Linked DNA regions of Homo sapiens: region 2 is linked to region 1. The links are contacts of gene promoters, found by promoter capture Hi-C in human tissues and cell types (Jung and others, 2019). All regions are on one chromosome and are shown on one strand. The core of a region is centred on a gene start or on the middle of the fragment in contact, and the rest is flanking DNA. Distances in the headings are between cores, read along the strand shown. Region 1 holds the start of FGFBP2 (fibroblast growth factor binding protein 2). Region 2 has its middle 80 kb from the start of CD38.

The links. Contacts are between HindIII fragments. The study calls those that stand out against the background at their distance.
Region 2: a contact is called between a fragment that was not itself captured here and the fragment with the promoter of FGFBP2 in region 1, in 3 of the 25 tissues and cell types used here (H1 embryonic stem cells, mesenchymal stem cells and mesendoderm cells).

Annotation. Positions count from the first base shown.
Region 1 is chr4:15,958,411-15,966,152 of GRCh38, reverse strand. It overlaps FGFBP2 (fibroblast growth factor binding protein 2), which reads left to right and starts at 2,978. Exons shown (of 2, transcript NM_031950.4): 1 at 2,978-3,715; 2 at 5,542-5,908. The coding sequence starts at 3,024. The coding sequence ends at 3,695. RefSeq lists an enhancer at 2,107-2,948. The HindIII fragment of the contact is 18,537 bases long and covers 1-7,091 here.
Region 2 is chr4:15,854,235-15,861,976 of GRCh38, reverse strand. No RefSeq gene overlaps it. Among named protein-coding and RNA genes, the nearest start is that of CD38, 80 kb to the right of the region's middle. The HindIII fragment of the contact is 4,017 bases long and covers 965-4,981 here.

The sequences.
Region 1 (7,742 bases), core at 1,729-4,228:
TACCCTCCCTGTACAAAGTCCCCCTGTCCACCAATCCTTTCTCAACACAGCAGTCTCTTACAGTGCAAATCTGATCATGACACTCCACACTTAAAAGATGAACAAGCAAATAAGAAAGAAGAGAAATTGGGCTGAGCATGGTGGCTCACACCTGTAATCCCAGCACTTTGGGAGGCCAAGGCAGGTGGATAATCCGAGGTCAGGAGTTCAAGACCAGCCTGACCAATATGGTGAAACCTTGTCTCTACTAAAAATACAAAAATTAGCCAGATGTGGTGGCATGTGCCTATAGTCCCAGCTACTCGGGAGGCTGAGACAGGAGAATTGCTTGAACCCAGGAGGCGGAGGTTGCAGTGAGCCAAGTTCACGCCATTGCACTCCAGCCTGGGTGACAGAGCAAAACTCCGTCTCAAAAAAAAAGAGAGAAATCACTGCCTTCAAGAGGATTAAAGCAGGATGAAGTGATAGAGGAACAGAAGAGCTCTTTTACATTGTATAGCGAGGGAAGGCCTCTGTGAAGGTGGCAGGGAGAAGGCAGCCATGCGATGTTCAAGGAAAAGATTTTCAGGCAGTGGGCACTAGTGCAAAGGTCTTGAGGTTTGGCTTGTCCCAAAAGCGAAAAGAGGAAGAGCGTGATTAGAGCTCTTATGATAAGTTCCCATTGCAGGGTAAACTCAGCCTCACTAGGGCATTGAAAAGGGCTGGCCATAACCTCAGGGTGTCTAGATGGGTCTAGCAAGCTGTTCCCTGCAACACTGTGGTGGGTGGGGGAAAGGAGGTTGGAGCTGAACACCTGCCTTCCTGTGGCCACGACATGGAGCCTGGGTTGGAGTGCTGTTTACTCCAGGGGCTCCTGAGTTGGAAGCACACAAAGGGCAAGCCTCTGTCTTAGAACTGGCCCTGTGGATTGGTACGGGGGCTGCGGACCCCACCCTAAGTCACCTCTCCAGCCTGATTCTCACCACTGCCTCCTTGCCCTTGACATTTCAGCAGTCCATAAACCTGCACTCCAGGATCACTCCTTTACAGGAAGCATTATCCTGCCTTAAGAATCTGCCCTTGGCCAGGCGCAGTGGCTCGTGCCTGTAATCTCAGCACTTAGGGAGGCTGAAGTGGGCGGATCACTTGTTAGGAGTTTGAGGCCAGCCTGGCCAACGTCGTGAAACCCCATCTCTACTAAAAACACAAAAATTAGCCTGGCATGGTGGTAGGCGCCTGTAATCCCAACTACTCAGGTGGCTGAGGCAGGACAATTGCTTGAACCTGGGAGGTGGAGGTTGCAGTGAGCCAAGATTGTGCCACTGCACTCCAGCCTGGGTGGCAAAGTAAGACTGTGTGAAAAAAAAAAAAAACCTACCTTTAGCTGGTTGTGGTGGTTCACATCTGTAATTCCAGTGACTCCAGAGGACAAGGAAGCAGGAGGATTGCTTGAGGCCTGGAGTGTGAGATCGGCCTGGACAACAGAGTGAGACCCTGTCCCTAAAAATTTTAAATTTAAAATTTAGCTGGGTGTGGCAGCCCATGCCTGTAGTCCCAGTTACTTGAGAGGCTGAGGCAGGAGAAGTAATTGAGCCCAGGAGTTGGAGGCTACAGTGAGCTATAATTACACCAGTGCAATCCGGTCTAGGTGACAGAATGAGGCCAAAACAAACAAACAAACAAACAAACAAAAAAAACACCTGCCCTTTACCCTTTCTCAACCTGACAAATTGACTGACTTGTCTTGAAGGTTTGGCACCACTTCTTGGAAGCTTCCTCTGCTCCCCACCTGGGGTGATGCCCTCTTCTGGAAGGCTCTCACTGCTACACACACAGTGGCTGCCGAAGCTCAGCCTGGCTTTAGTTCCAGCCCTACTAGGTCTTCTCAGGACTCAGGATATCCAGGTGGAAGGAAGGCTGTGCCAGGTACCAACTACCCTACGTGGGATCGCCAAGATAAATCCCTCACATTCAAACTAGTCCCCCAACATCCGTCAACCCTATTCCTAACAGCAAATTGCCACCTTTAGTCCACTCCACAGTGCCCTCTGGAAGGGTCATCAAAAGACAGTTATGACCATACCAAACTATGATTCTTGACACAGAATCAAAAGTTATTTTCAATTTATTTTTTTTCTATTGTAGAACAATAATAATAATATTTAAAATCATATTTTCCTGTGATATAATTAAAACTGTGTTATTTCAATTGAATTTGAAATAGAATTCATGGTCTAAAATAGACTGAATCCCACTGTGAACATATATTTGCATGCCTTCCTCGTCATCATTCAGTTGGTGCAATTGTAAGGCATGCAATAACAAGGGAAGTGAACATTGCAGCACTGTGGCCTGTGGCCACGGTGATGGCGGGACAGCCCCACAGAGGCCACACCAGGTGACTCTCAGCTCGGTGGGTGGGAGGGGGAGTGTCTCTGTGTCCCTCTGGCACACACATCCTCACACAACCTCACATAGTCTTTTTTGCATTTGCTAGGCCATCTCATAACACTTAGGCTCATAAAATTCTGGCTTCCTTTGGATTAACTAAACCCATGGTCCCCCAAGATGGGGATTCCAGGGAGCAGGAGGGAGCCTCGAGGCAGCCCAGACTCCCAGCTGCAAACCTCACTTTCCAGAATACCACTGCCACACCTTGGCATATACCAAATGTTGACAAAGAAGGCTGTTCCCGTACAAGGGCCAATTTTAGAGCAAGCACCCTGTGGTTGGAAAACTGTAAAACCCTCAGCCCCAAAGCTGTGTGTGGCGCTTTGTGCGTGACAGGGCTGGGGCAGATCTCTCTGAGGCACTCAGGAAAACCATTCCCTTTGCTTGTGGTGGGCGGCCCCTGGTGGCTGCTCTGCCCTTGCCAAGTGTTACGTGTCTAAGGTCTGTGGGCATGTTTCTCATTTGCTGCAAAACATCCTCCCCACCCTTGCAGAGAAAGAGTCTTTTGTGCAGCACCCTTTAAAGGGTGACTCGTCCCACTTGTGTTCTCTCTCCTGGTGCAGAGTTGCAAGCAAGTTTATCGGAGTATCGCCATGAAGTTCGTCCCCTGCCTCCTGCTGGTGACCTTGTCCTGCCTGGGGACTTTGGGTCAGGCCCCGAGGCAAAAGCAAGGAAGCACTGGGGAGGAATTCCATTTCCAGACTGGAGGGAGAGATTCCTGCACTATGCGTCCCAGCAGCTTGGGGCAAGGTGCTGGAGAAGTCTGGCTTCGTGTCGACTGCCGCAACACAGACCAGACCTACTGGTGTGAGTACAGGGGGCAGCCCAGCATGTGCCAGGCTTTCGCTGCTGACCCCAAACCTTACTGGAATCAAGCCCTGCAGGAGCTGAGGCGCCTTCACCATGCGTGCCAGGGGGCCCCGGTGCTTAGGCCATCCGTGTGCAGGGAGGCTGGACCCCAGGCCCATATGCAGCAGGTGACTTCCAGCCTCAAGGGCAGCCCAGAGCCCAACCAGCAGCCTGAGGCTGGGACGCCATCTCTGAGGCCCAAGGCCACAGTGAAACTCACAGAAGCAACACAGCTGGGAAAGGACTCGATGGAAGAGCTGGGAAAAGCCAAACCCACCACCCGACCCACAGCCAAACCTACCCAGCCTGGACCCAGGCCCGGAGGGAATGAGGAAGCAAAGAAGAAGGCCTGGGAACATTGTTGGAAACCCTTCCAGGCCCTGTGCGCCTTTCTCATCAGCTTCTTCCGAGGGTGACAGGTGAAAGACCCCTACAGGTAATACCCTTTCCTTTACTCATATACAGAGACTACGTGTATATACTTATATACAGAGACTACGTGAGAGGCACTTAGCACTTTCACAGCTGCTGCGACCACATCAGAGTCTCAGCGTGTGTTTGGGGGTGGGTTTGAGGCTGTCTGTTGCAGAGCAGTGTAGATGAGGTAGTTCATCCGGAGTGGCACTTGACCCTGGAGTTGCATAGGAATCACCTACAAGGAGCTCTAAAAATGCTGATGCCCAGGCCCCTCGCCAGACCGTTCCATCTATGTCTCCAACATAGTAGCGCAGGAATGTGGACTTTTAAAACTCTCCCCCAAGTGATTTGAATGTGCAGCCAAGGTTGAGAATCTCCTTGTGATGGAACCACCTCACTGTTAGACCGAGGCCTTTGGAATTCTGCCGGGTAACGTTTCCTAATGAACCAAGCATTTGCTGCAGCTGTTAGTGGCCGAGGTGCTATGTCATGGTGGAGGTGTCGCCACACCCCGTCTTGTTCTCAGTTTTTTCTCCTACAGTCAAGTTAGGGTGGGGAGTGTTGTGCACTGAGGAAAGTTTGAGTCAAATAGTCTTTAAAGTCTTTCTCACAGCTCTCAAAGCCTTTAATTGTTTTTTGTTCATCACAGAGGAGAAAATCTAATTAATAATAACAGATTTAATCAACTCCAAGTATTGCTTTTAAAAGACCAAACTTTTTCTTGTGGAAATAAGGCTTATTACTGATCTCTATCCTTAAATGTAGCAGCTTTCATTAATTTTGCACACCAGTAAGGAGTTCATTTACATGGGATTCTAGTCTTACTTGTGCACTTTGAGTTTAAAAGGAGAGTTTCTGAGTTTTTTTCATATTATCTATGTAAGAAAAATAGGAACAAAGCAGATTTCCTGATAAACAGCACTTTGATAACGAATACCACCAAACAAATAAGGCTTTTTCTACAAGCGCCCAGGCAGCAAGAAATGTTGGTTCACAACAAAGTTGTTTTGGTGTCTGCTGTTCTGGGCTGGAGGTTTTCTGCTTGTTTAAGATTTCAGATCTGTCCCAGAGGAGAAAAGGGGACACTTAAGCCAAAAAAAGTTACTATTGAGAGGAGGTCCTTTTTTTTTTCTTTTTAAAGTGATTTTTTTGGTCTTTCTACAAATAAGACATACAAATCATTTGAAAAATTCAAACACAACAGAAAAATACAAAGAATTTTAAAACTTCATCCATAATCCCACCACACAGAGATAAACAATGTTAACAGAAGAGTACCCATTTAGACATCCATCCATGCGTATTTACACAGACAGATGTACAGCGTATATACAGATGCATACAGGCGCTAAAGCTCAAAACAATATCTTGATCCTGCAGATAAGCTGCATAGGACTACTGTATTAGCTTGCTGGGGCTGCCATAGCAAAATACCACAGAATGGGTGGCTTAAACAGCAGAAATATATTTTCTCACAATTCTGGAGACTGAAATTCCAAGATCAAGGTGTCAGCAGGATTGGTGTCTTCTGAGGACTCTCTCCTTGACTCATAGATGGCAGCCTTCTCTCTGTCATTCCTCTGCGTGGGTCTGTGTCCTCATCTCTTTTTGTTAGGATACCATTCACACTGGATGAAGTCCCACCCAAACAGCCCCATTTTACCTTAACCACCTCTTTAATGGCCCCTATCTTTAAATACAAACGCTCCCTGAGGTACTGGAGGTTAGGACTTAAGTCTACGGTTTTTAGGTTTTGGGAGGGACACAATTCACACAATTCAACCCATAACAACAAAGAAAGAATTTTTCATCCCTTCCTTTTTTTTTCTTTTTTTTTTTTTTTAGATCTGACCTCTCCCTGACAGACAACCATCTCTTTTTATATTATGCCGCTTTCAATCCAACGTTCTCACACTGGAAGAAGAGAGTTTCTAATCAGATGCAACGGCCCAAATTCTTGATCTGCAGCTTCTCTGAAGTTTGGAAAAGAAACCTTCCTTTCTGGAGTTTGCAGAGTTCAGCAATATGATAGGGAACAGGTGCTGATGGGCCCAAGAGTGACAAGCATACACAACTACTTATTATCTGTAGAAGTTTTGCTTTGTTGATCTGAGCCTTCTATGAAAGTTTAAATATGTAACGCATTCATGAATTTCCAGTGTTCAGTAAATAGCAGCTATGTGTGTGCAAAATAAAAGAATGATTTCAGAAATACGACTTTAGTCTTCTTAATGAACGTGATACCTAGATGCTATAGGGATCATGTATACCCATGAAGTCACTATTATTTTATTCAGGGTGCCATCGTGCATTACACAGACTAGGTGGCTTAAAGCAACAGAAATGTGTTCTCTCACAGTGATGGAGGCAAGAAGTGCCTCAAGATGTCACCAAAGTTAGTTTCTCCTGGAGGGTCTCAGGGAAAATCTGTTCAATGCCTCTCTGTCAGTTTCTTAAAGTTGCTGGAATCCTTGACATTCCTTGGCTTATAGACATATCACTCTAATCCCTGCCTCTGTCTTCACATGGAATTTTCCCTTGCGTGTGTGTCAAATTTCCCTCTCCTGATAAGGGCACCAGCCATTGGATTAGGGTCCATCCTAATCAAGAAAGACCTTATCTTAACTCCATCATGTCTGCAAACACCCTATTCCCAAATAAGATCATATTCACAGATTCCAAATGGACATAAATTTTTGGTGGGCACTATTCAACCCAGCACAGCCACCATGCAGCAATAGCAACTAGCCAAAAAGATAGAGAAGTGAACCTGAAAAAGAACAACCCTGTACACTCAGCAATTAAATTAATCAACAGAGTTGGAAAGGAAGAAAATTAGATTTTATTAGACATACGCGAAAAGTGACTCACTTCTTAATTTCGTATTTGTCTTACCTAAGAACACATTAATAGTCTACTCTCTCTCTTTTTTTTCTAATGGCTATTTATTTATTCGAGATGGGTCTCGCTCTGTCACCCAGGCTGGAGTGCAGTGGTGCAATCTCGGCTCACTGCAACCTCCGCCTCCTGGGTTCAAGCGATTCTCCTGCCTTAGCCTCCCGAGTAGCCGGGATTACAGGCATGTGCCACCATGCCCAGCTAATTTTTGTATTTTTAGTAGAGACAAGGTTTCACCATGTTGGCCAGGCTGGTCTTGAACTCCTGACCTCAGGTGATCCGCCCGCCTCGGCCTCCCAAAGTGCTGGGATTACAGGCGTGAGCCACTGTACCTGGCCCACTAGTCCACTCTTGATGTACTTAAATTGTTTCCCCAACTAGCCCAGCAGTGCCCAACCCTAGCTACATAATGGAGTCACCTGGGGCAACTTTTCAAAAACACTGGTGCTTGGACGTCAGCACCAGAGGTTACGGTGTAACTGGCCAGGGATGGGGCCTGAGCATGTGCAATTTTACATTTCCCCTGGTGACTCTAATATGCAGCCAAGTTTGAGAAACACCGCCCTTAATTAATTGAATTAGAATCTCTGGGGTGTATCCTAAGTAATTTCCAGGCAATTCTATGTGTAACCTGAGTTGAAGACTACTAATATGGCCTCTATATGTAGTTCACACAATTAAGAAATATTTATTCATCATCAACTATGTCCCAGGCACTGTGCAACACATTGGCTAGGGGAGACATGAACTAACCAACTAGGTTTCACATCTTAGAAGTGCAGTGAAGTAGTGGAAACCAAGACAACACATTGATGAGTGTTGGAGATGACACAGAAGGCGGTGGGTGGGGGCAGCCAGGGGACGTTTGCTGGGGTTGAGTTTCTAAAATATATATACATCAAGCATCTACTGTGACATACCAAGTCTATTTCTTATAAGGGCTCTGAGCCTTTCACTCACCCCCTCATATAGCTCTCACTACATCCCTAGGAGGTAAGTAGTTTTATTCCCAATTATAAACCAAGGGACTTGAAAGTCTGGAGAGGTGAGTTGTACACAGCTTGTTAAGAGTCAGGACAGCAGAGAAATCCAGGTTCACCCAATTCTAATGCTCATGGCGTTCAATTTGTAAACATCACAGGATAGGC
Region 2 (7,742 bases), core at 1,724-4,223, 100 kb after region 1:
TATTCCAGAAGGGATGTCATTAACCTCCCTGTTGCCAATTTCAAGAGCTACCTTTCTGCCCAAGGTTTTCTTTATAATTTCTGACATTTCAATCATCTATGAACCTTTCCCCTCCCCTCACTTTTCATAAGTGGCTTTCCTTCTACCCCTCTGGCTGTTACCTTTCAGATTCTTACTCACACATTTTCCTTGGACTCCCACTGCCTGGGAGGGTTGTGGAAAGAGCTTCTTCACAGCCTCTCTGTGTCCAGTGAAGCTACTTTCCCATTAATTCTGTATAGAATCACCAGGGTACTGTTTCTATAATGCAGATCTGATCACGTCTCTTCCATGTTTAAAATCTTCCCAAGTGTTGTTGATTGTAAAAACAGTTTCCACAAATTCCATGTTGTATTAGTCTGTTCTCACGCTGCTGAGAAAGACTTACCCGAGACTGGGAGATTTATAAAGGAAAGAGGTTTAATTGACTCACAGTTCCGCATAGCTGTGGAGGCTTAAGGAAACTTACAATCATGGCAGAAGGAGAAGCAAACACATCCTTCTTCACAGGGCATCAAAAAGGAGAAGTGCCGAGCAAAGAGGGAAAAGCCCCTTATAAAACCATCAGATCTTGTGAGAACTCACTTTCATGAGAAGAGCATAAGGGTAACCACCCCCATGATTCAATTACCTTCCATCAGGTTCCTCCTACCACATGTGGGGATTATGGGAACTACAATTCAAGATGAGTTTTGGGTGGGGACACAGCAAACCATATCACATCTGTTCTTATGTATACACATTCCTTTGCAATGTTAATTGGTAGTTTCCCAATCACAAGGTAAAGTTTATTTCTCTACCTCTTGAATATGAGGTTGGCCATGTGACTTGTGACTTGTTGGACTTGCATTGTTTATAATGGCTTGTTTTTCTTTTTAATAAATTTATTTTTTCGAGTAGTTTTAGATTCACAAAAAACTGAGTAGAAAGTACAGTCTTCATATAATCCCTGCACCCACACGTGCACAGCCATCCCAACCATGGTTTTTATAAAAAATGAAAATAAAATACTTGTACCAAATTAGGGGATGAATAAATTATGGTACAACAATATTCTTTGCCAATGAAAAATAACAACGCAGAGCTCTATTTATTGACTTAGAAAGATATTCACAACATATTAGTTTGAAAAAAGCTAGTCACTGTAGGGTGAGATAGCATTTCTCTAAACATATGATCTCATTTCTCTAAACATATACCTATTTCATTAGATCTAAGATGTCATCAAGTATAAGATAGACTATTAATTATTCATTACTAAGAAAAAGGATGCTTCCACTTAAACTGTCATATGTTGTTTTGTAAATACATTGATTCTAAGATACAGCCTGATGTCAGAAATTCTAAAATCTTTTTAAAAATGTTTCTTAGCTTGTGCATATGTGGTTGATATAAAAATGTAATTTTTAAATTTATTGATACATAATATTTGTACACATTTATGAGATACATGTGATATTTTGTTATGTGCATTGAATGTATAATTATCAAGTCAGAGTTCTTAGGGTATCCATTGCCTCGAGTATTTATCATTTATATGTGTTGGGAACATTTCAAGTTCTCTCTTCTAGTTATTTTGAAAGATACAATACGTTGTTGTTACTTATAGCTACCCTACTCTGTTATGAAATATTAGAACTGATTCCTTCTATGTAACTGTATGTTTGTACCCATTCAGCAACCTCTCTTCATCCCCTCCACCACACACACACACACACACACACACACACACACACACACACACACCCTTAGCCTTTGGTCTCATTCTACTCTCCACCTCCATGACATCAACTTTTTAAGCTCCCATATATGAGGGAGAATATACAATATTTGTCTTTCTATGTCTGGCTTATCTCACTTAGCATGATGACCTCCAGTTTCATTCATGTTCTGAAAGTGACATGATTTCTTTCTTTTCCATGACCAAATAGTACTCCATTGTGTATATACACCACATTTTCTTCATCCATTTATTAATGGATAATTTGTTAATTCATATCTTTGCTATTGTGAACAGCACTACAATAAACATAGGGGTGCAAGTGTCTTTTGATATACTGATTTATTTTCCTTTGGATAAATATGCAGTTGTGGGATTGCCGGGTCATATGATAGTTCCATTTTTAGCTTTTTGAAAACTCTCCATACTGTTTTCTATAGTGACTGTACTAATTTACATTCCCACCAACAGTGTATAAGAGTTTCCTCTTCTCCACATCCTCATCAGCATCTGTTAATGTTTGTCTTTTTAATAATACCCATTCTGAGGTAAGATAATACCTCATTGTGGTTTTGATTTGCATTTTGATAATTAGTGATGAACATGTTTTCAAATACCTGTTGGCCATTTGTATGTATTTTTTTGAGAAATGTCTCTTCCTGTCCTTTACCCACTTTTAAATGGGATTAATTGTGGGTTGGTTTGTTTGTTTACTGTTGAGTTGTGAGTGCCTCGTATATTCTGAATATTAGTCCCTTGTCAGATGAATAGTTCACAAGTATTTTCTCCCATTTGACAGGTTGTCTCTTTACTCTGTTGATTATTTTCTGTGCTGAAGCTTTGTATTCTAATATAGTCCCGTTTGTCCATTTTTGCTTTTGTTGCCTATGCTTTTGAGGTCTTAGCCATAAAATCTTTGCCTAGATCAATGTCTTGAAGTGTTTTCCCTATGTTTTCTTCAAGTAGTTTTATAGCTTAGGGTTTTGTGTTTAAGTATTAATGCATCTTGAGTGGATTTTTTGTATATGATGAGAGATGGAAGTACAGTTTTATTTTTCTGCATATGAATGTCCAATTTTCCCAGCACCATTTATGGAAGAGGGTGTCCTTTCTCCAATGTATGTTCTTGGAGCTTTTGGTGAAAATCAGTTGGCTATAAATATGTGTATTACTTTCTGGGTTATCTATTCTGTTCTATTGGTCTATGTGTTGGTTTTTTGTTTCTGTTTTTGTTTTTGAGAGAGAGTCTTGCTCTGTCACCAGGCTGGAGTGCAGTGGTGCCGTCTCGGCTCACTGCAACCTCTGCCTCTCAGGTTTGAGTGATTCTCCTGCCTCAGCCTCCCAAGTAGCTGGGACTACAGGCCTGCACTGCCACACCCAGCTAATTTTTGTATGTTTAGTAGAGATGGGGTTTCACCATGTTGGCAAGGATGGTCTTGATATCTTCACCTCATGATCCACCTACCTCGGCCTCCCAAAGTGATGGGATTACAGGCGTGAGCCATACCACCATGTTGTTTTGGTTACTATAAGCCTTGTAATATATTTTGAAGTGAAGTAGTGTGATGCCTCCAGCTTTGTTCTTTTTGCTCAGGATTGCTTTGGCTATTTAGTTCTCTTTTTTTGTTCCATATGAATTTTAGGATTGTTTTTCTATGAAAAATATGATTTATATGAAAAGTGTACAATATATACATAAGATGTTATCAGTGGTAACCACTGGTAACCTGGGTGGTAAGATTATCAATGAGTAGAAAGTATAGCACTGATATATTTCAATGATTTTGTCTTTATTTTTTATTATCTGTATTGCTTACATCAAAGAAATGGTAACTTGGTTAAAAATAAAAACATTTTAAAGGAAAACTCTCAATCTCCCCTGTTTGGGGAAGCTTTCATCATCCCTCTCACATCACCCCAAATTGTACTTTGTGCTCATGGGGCATGTTTGTGTCATTGACAGTCCTAACCATCTCATTCTCAGTCCTCCTAAAAGACCAGAGTTTTCCAGACAACACAGTGGGCAGCTGGAAAGGGGTATGGGGGAAATGACTTTTACCAAGTTCAGGCTGAAGTAGAGATTCCCCCTTGAATACACAGGGAGTGGGCCATCTGCTCCACGGCAGTAGCCCATGCCTGTTTCTGTCAATACTCTGTCACCAGCACCTTGCACCTAGAAAAGGATCAGCTAATACTGGTGATCAAATAATCAGTAGGTCAATTATTTAATAGTGAGGCTAAAGTGGCCAGCAAAGCCAAGTCTGGACAAAGAAACTGAGCTACAGCGGTGAGGATTAAAGAAGGCATTATGGAGACAAAAGCCCTGAGAGCAAATACTGACTGAGTTTCTGCTCTGTGTCTGGGATTGAGGATAAAGCAATGAAGAAAAAGACCAGGTCTAGCCATCATGGAAATGAGATTCTGGGTGAAACTAGATCAGAGGAAGAGAGGAAGAGAGAAGTATCTTTTTCTAGAGTTTGGTACCCTCTGCTTATGGCTTCCATTTTCTAAGTCCAAGGCTGCTGCTGAAATTTCATTGTTTTTCAGCAAAGTAAAGGAGATAAAAGTGAAAATTTAGTCCATTGATGATAGACTGGATCAAGAAAATGTGGCACATATACACCATGGAATACTGTGCAGCCATAAAAAAGGACGAGTTCATGTCCTTTGTAGGGACATGGATGAAGCTGGAAACCATCATTCTGAGCAAACTATCACAAGGACAGAAAACCAAAAACCACATGTTCTCACTTATAGGTGGGAATCGAACAATGAGAACACATGGACACAGGGTGGGGAACATCACACAATGGGGCCTGTCGTGGGGTCGGGGGAGGGAGGGAGGGAGGGATAGCATTAGGAGAAATACCTAATGTAAATGACGAGTTAATGGGTGCAGCATATCAACATGGCACATGTATACATATGTAACAAACCTGCACGTTACGCACATGTACCCTAGAACTTAAAGTATAATTTAAAAAAATGAAAATTTAGAGCAAGTGGCTGTTTCTAAGGTGACTAGGCAATTGCATTAATCATCTCCATTCATACCCTATTGGCCAGAGCCAGCTGCAGAGCTGGGATCTGTTCTCTAGCCGTGAAGTCATGCCCTGATTAAAAATGGCAGATGGGGAAATACTGTTTATTTTTTTTAAAAAAAGAAGAAAAGAACACATACTAGGCAACAGTTAGCAATCTCCACCACACCTGTTTGTGGATTCTTAGGCTTTTTGATAGGAAAGAAAGACATGGAAGGAGAAAACCTTGACTCCTAAACTATTGCTCACAACTCCACACACCTTCCACAACCCCAGAAGGACTTAGTATCTTCACTTGTCAAGTAAAGGAGATGAGCCACTGATGTGCCATCATTGTGTTCCATGGTTCTTTCATGATTCTGTAATAAATTATTACAGAAATGTCTATTTTGTTACTTTTACTGTGGAAGTATTTGACATGTTCATGGTAATGAGTGACACTTAGAAAACAACAGGCCGGGCGCAGTGGCTCACGCCTGTAATCCCAGTATTTTGGGAGGCCGAGGGGGGCGGATCACAAGGTCAGGAGATGGAGACCATCCTGGCCAACATGGTGAAACCTTGTCTCTACTAAAAATACAAAAATTAGCTGGACATGGTGGTGCGTGCCTGTAGTCCTAGCTACTCAGGAGGCTGAGGCAGGAGAATCGCTGGAACCTGGGAGGCGGAGGTTGCAGTGAGCCGAGATCACGCCACTGCCCTCCAGCCTGGCTACAGAGTGAGACTCCGTCTCAAAACAAAAACAAAAACAAAAAAATACATTTTAAAAATAATCCCATCTGATAGCACAGAGTCACCCGTGTTCTAAAAGGCTGACAGCAGGAAGGACACCTGATGAGATCCCAGCTTGCTTCCTTCCTCTCACATCACCAGGCCAAACAAGCTGTGCCTGGAGAAGCTCATGACTTCTGTGGCCCAGCGCCAAAGTCATCAAATTCTGAGCGTCTAAGAAGAATCTGGGACTTAGCAGCAGCTCCCACAGGGCATCTTTCCCTCCAACTTGTATCTGATTATTCTACCAGTGCAGGAAAATTCCCTGGAAGGCAAGGCTGGGAAAACTGAACCAATTATTAAATATTATTCACAACGGGAGATTTGTTCTTGTGCAGAAGGTCAGAGATAGCTGTCCCATTTCTTCTTAGCTCTCCTGCTTTCTCAATGTTCTTTCAGCTCACTGATTCCACAGGGAGAAGATTTCTACTCCCAGCACATCTTGTCTTCTGGCTTCGTTGCACCAAGGAAGGCTGCGTGCCTTAACCATCATCAGAGCAGTAAGTACCTGGTCAGGAGAGCAGGGGCTTGAACTGGCAATGCTAAGGGAGGCTGTTGAACTCTTGATCAGCTTGAAGGATGAAATTTATACATTTGAACTTCTTAGATTTGGGAGCAGTGGAGTCTATTGCTGCATTTTTGTCAACCTCCAGCTTGGGATGGGCCAGCTCTTAGTGAAAGGTATCTGGCCCATTTCTCTCTTAGGTGGGAAAGTTCTAATCATCTAGAATGATTCAAAGCTTGTGAGAGACTATAGCTGATCCTGTTGGTTGGCAAGAGAGCCATTCTCTACCCTCTTCTCCATTGTCCCCTAGGTCTCAGGGTCTCAGCATCTAAACTAGGTAGGCTTGTCAAGGAATTTCCTCCGGAATAAAAACAGTCTCAAAAATAAAATAAAATAAAAATAAAAAAATAAAAATCCTAACATTGATACAGTTCTTCATATGTATTAAGCATTATCCTAAAAATTTTGCACATATCACCTTACTTAATGCTCAAAACAACCCAAAATGATAGACACTCTTATCACTCCCATTTTACAGACAGAGAAACTGAGCTCTGTCCTAAGCATTTTACCTGTATCAGGCCCTACACACTGAATGTATCTGTGCAACCGTGAATCTGTGGCTGGTGAGGAAGGAAAGCAGGTGCCATGCACCATCCACCATTCTCTTTCATTACTTCTGTTCCCAGAAATAGCCATGTCTGTGTTCTGGCAGTGATAGAGCGACAGCCAAGTGTCCATAGGGCAAGCGGCAACTTTTCTACCTGACAAGCCAGTAGAGTAATCTGGAGTGTTGTTCTTGGCTAAGTGGCTTCCAAACTATTTTCTCGCCCTCCCAGACAATCTATAAGCTCTTGATAGTTTTTAGAAAATTCACTTTCAGCCTGTGATGGTTGAGTGTCAACTTGATTGGACTGAAGGATGCAAAGTATTGTTCCTGGGTGTGTTTGTGAGGGTGTTGCCAAGGGAGATTAACATTTGAGTCAGTGGACTCGGAGAGGCAGACCCACAGTCAATCTAGGTGAGCACCATCTAATCAGCTATCAGTGCAGCTAGGATAAAAGCAGGCAGAAGAACGTGGGAGGACTAGACTGGCTGAGTCTTCTGGCTTCCATCTTTCTCCCATGATGGATGCTTCCTGCTCCCGAACATCGGATTCCAAGTTCTTCAGCTTTTGGACTCATGGACTTACACCAGTGGATTGTCAGGGGCTCTCAGGCCTTTGGCCACAGACTGAAGGCTGCACTGCTGGCTTCCCTACTTTTGAGATTTTGGGACTCGGACTGGTTTCCTTGCTCCTCAGCTTGCAGACGGCCTATTGTGGGACTTCACCTTGTGATCATGCAAGTCAATACACCTTAATAAACTCCCTTTCATATATCTATCTGTCTTTAGCTCTGTCCCTCTAGAGAACCCTAATACACAGCCAGAGTGGTGTTCTGTTGTTGCAGCTGAGAGCACAGGCTGATACAATGTGTGAAGTACCTTGTACAATAAACATTGGTTTTCTCTTTTCTGCAGGCTGGCATTTTGCATCAAGTTTTTTTGTTTTTTGTTTTGTTTGTTTGTTTGTTTTGAGACAGCAACTAAATTTCTATTGTCCAGGCTGGAGTGCAGTGGCACAATCTCAGCTCACTGTAGCCTTGATCTCCTGGGCTCAAGCAAT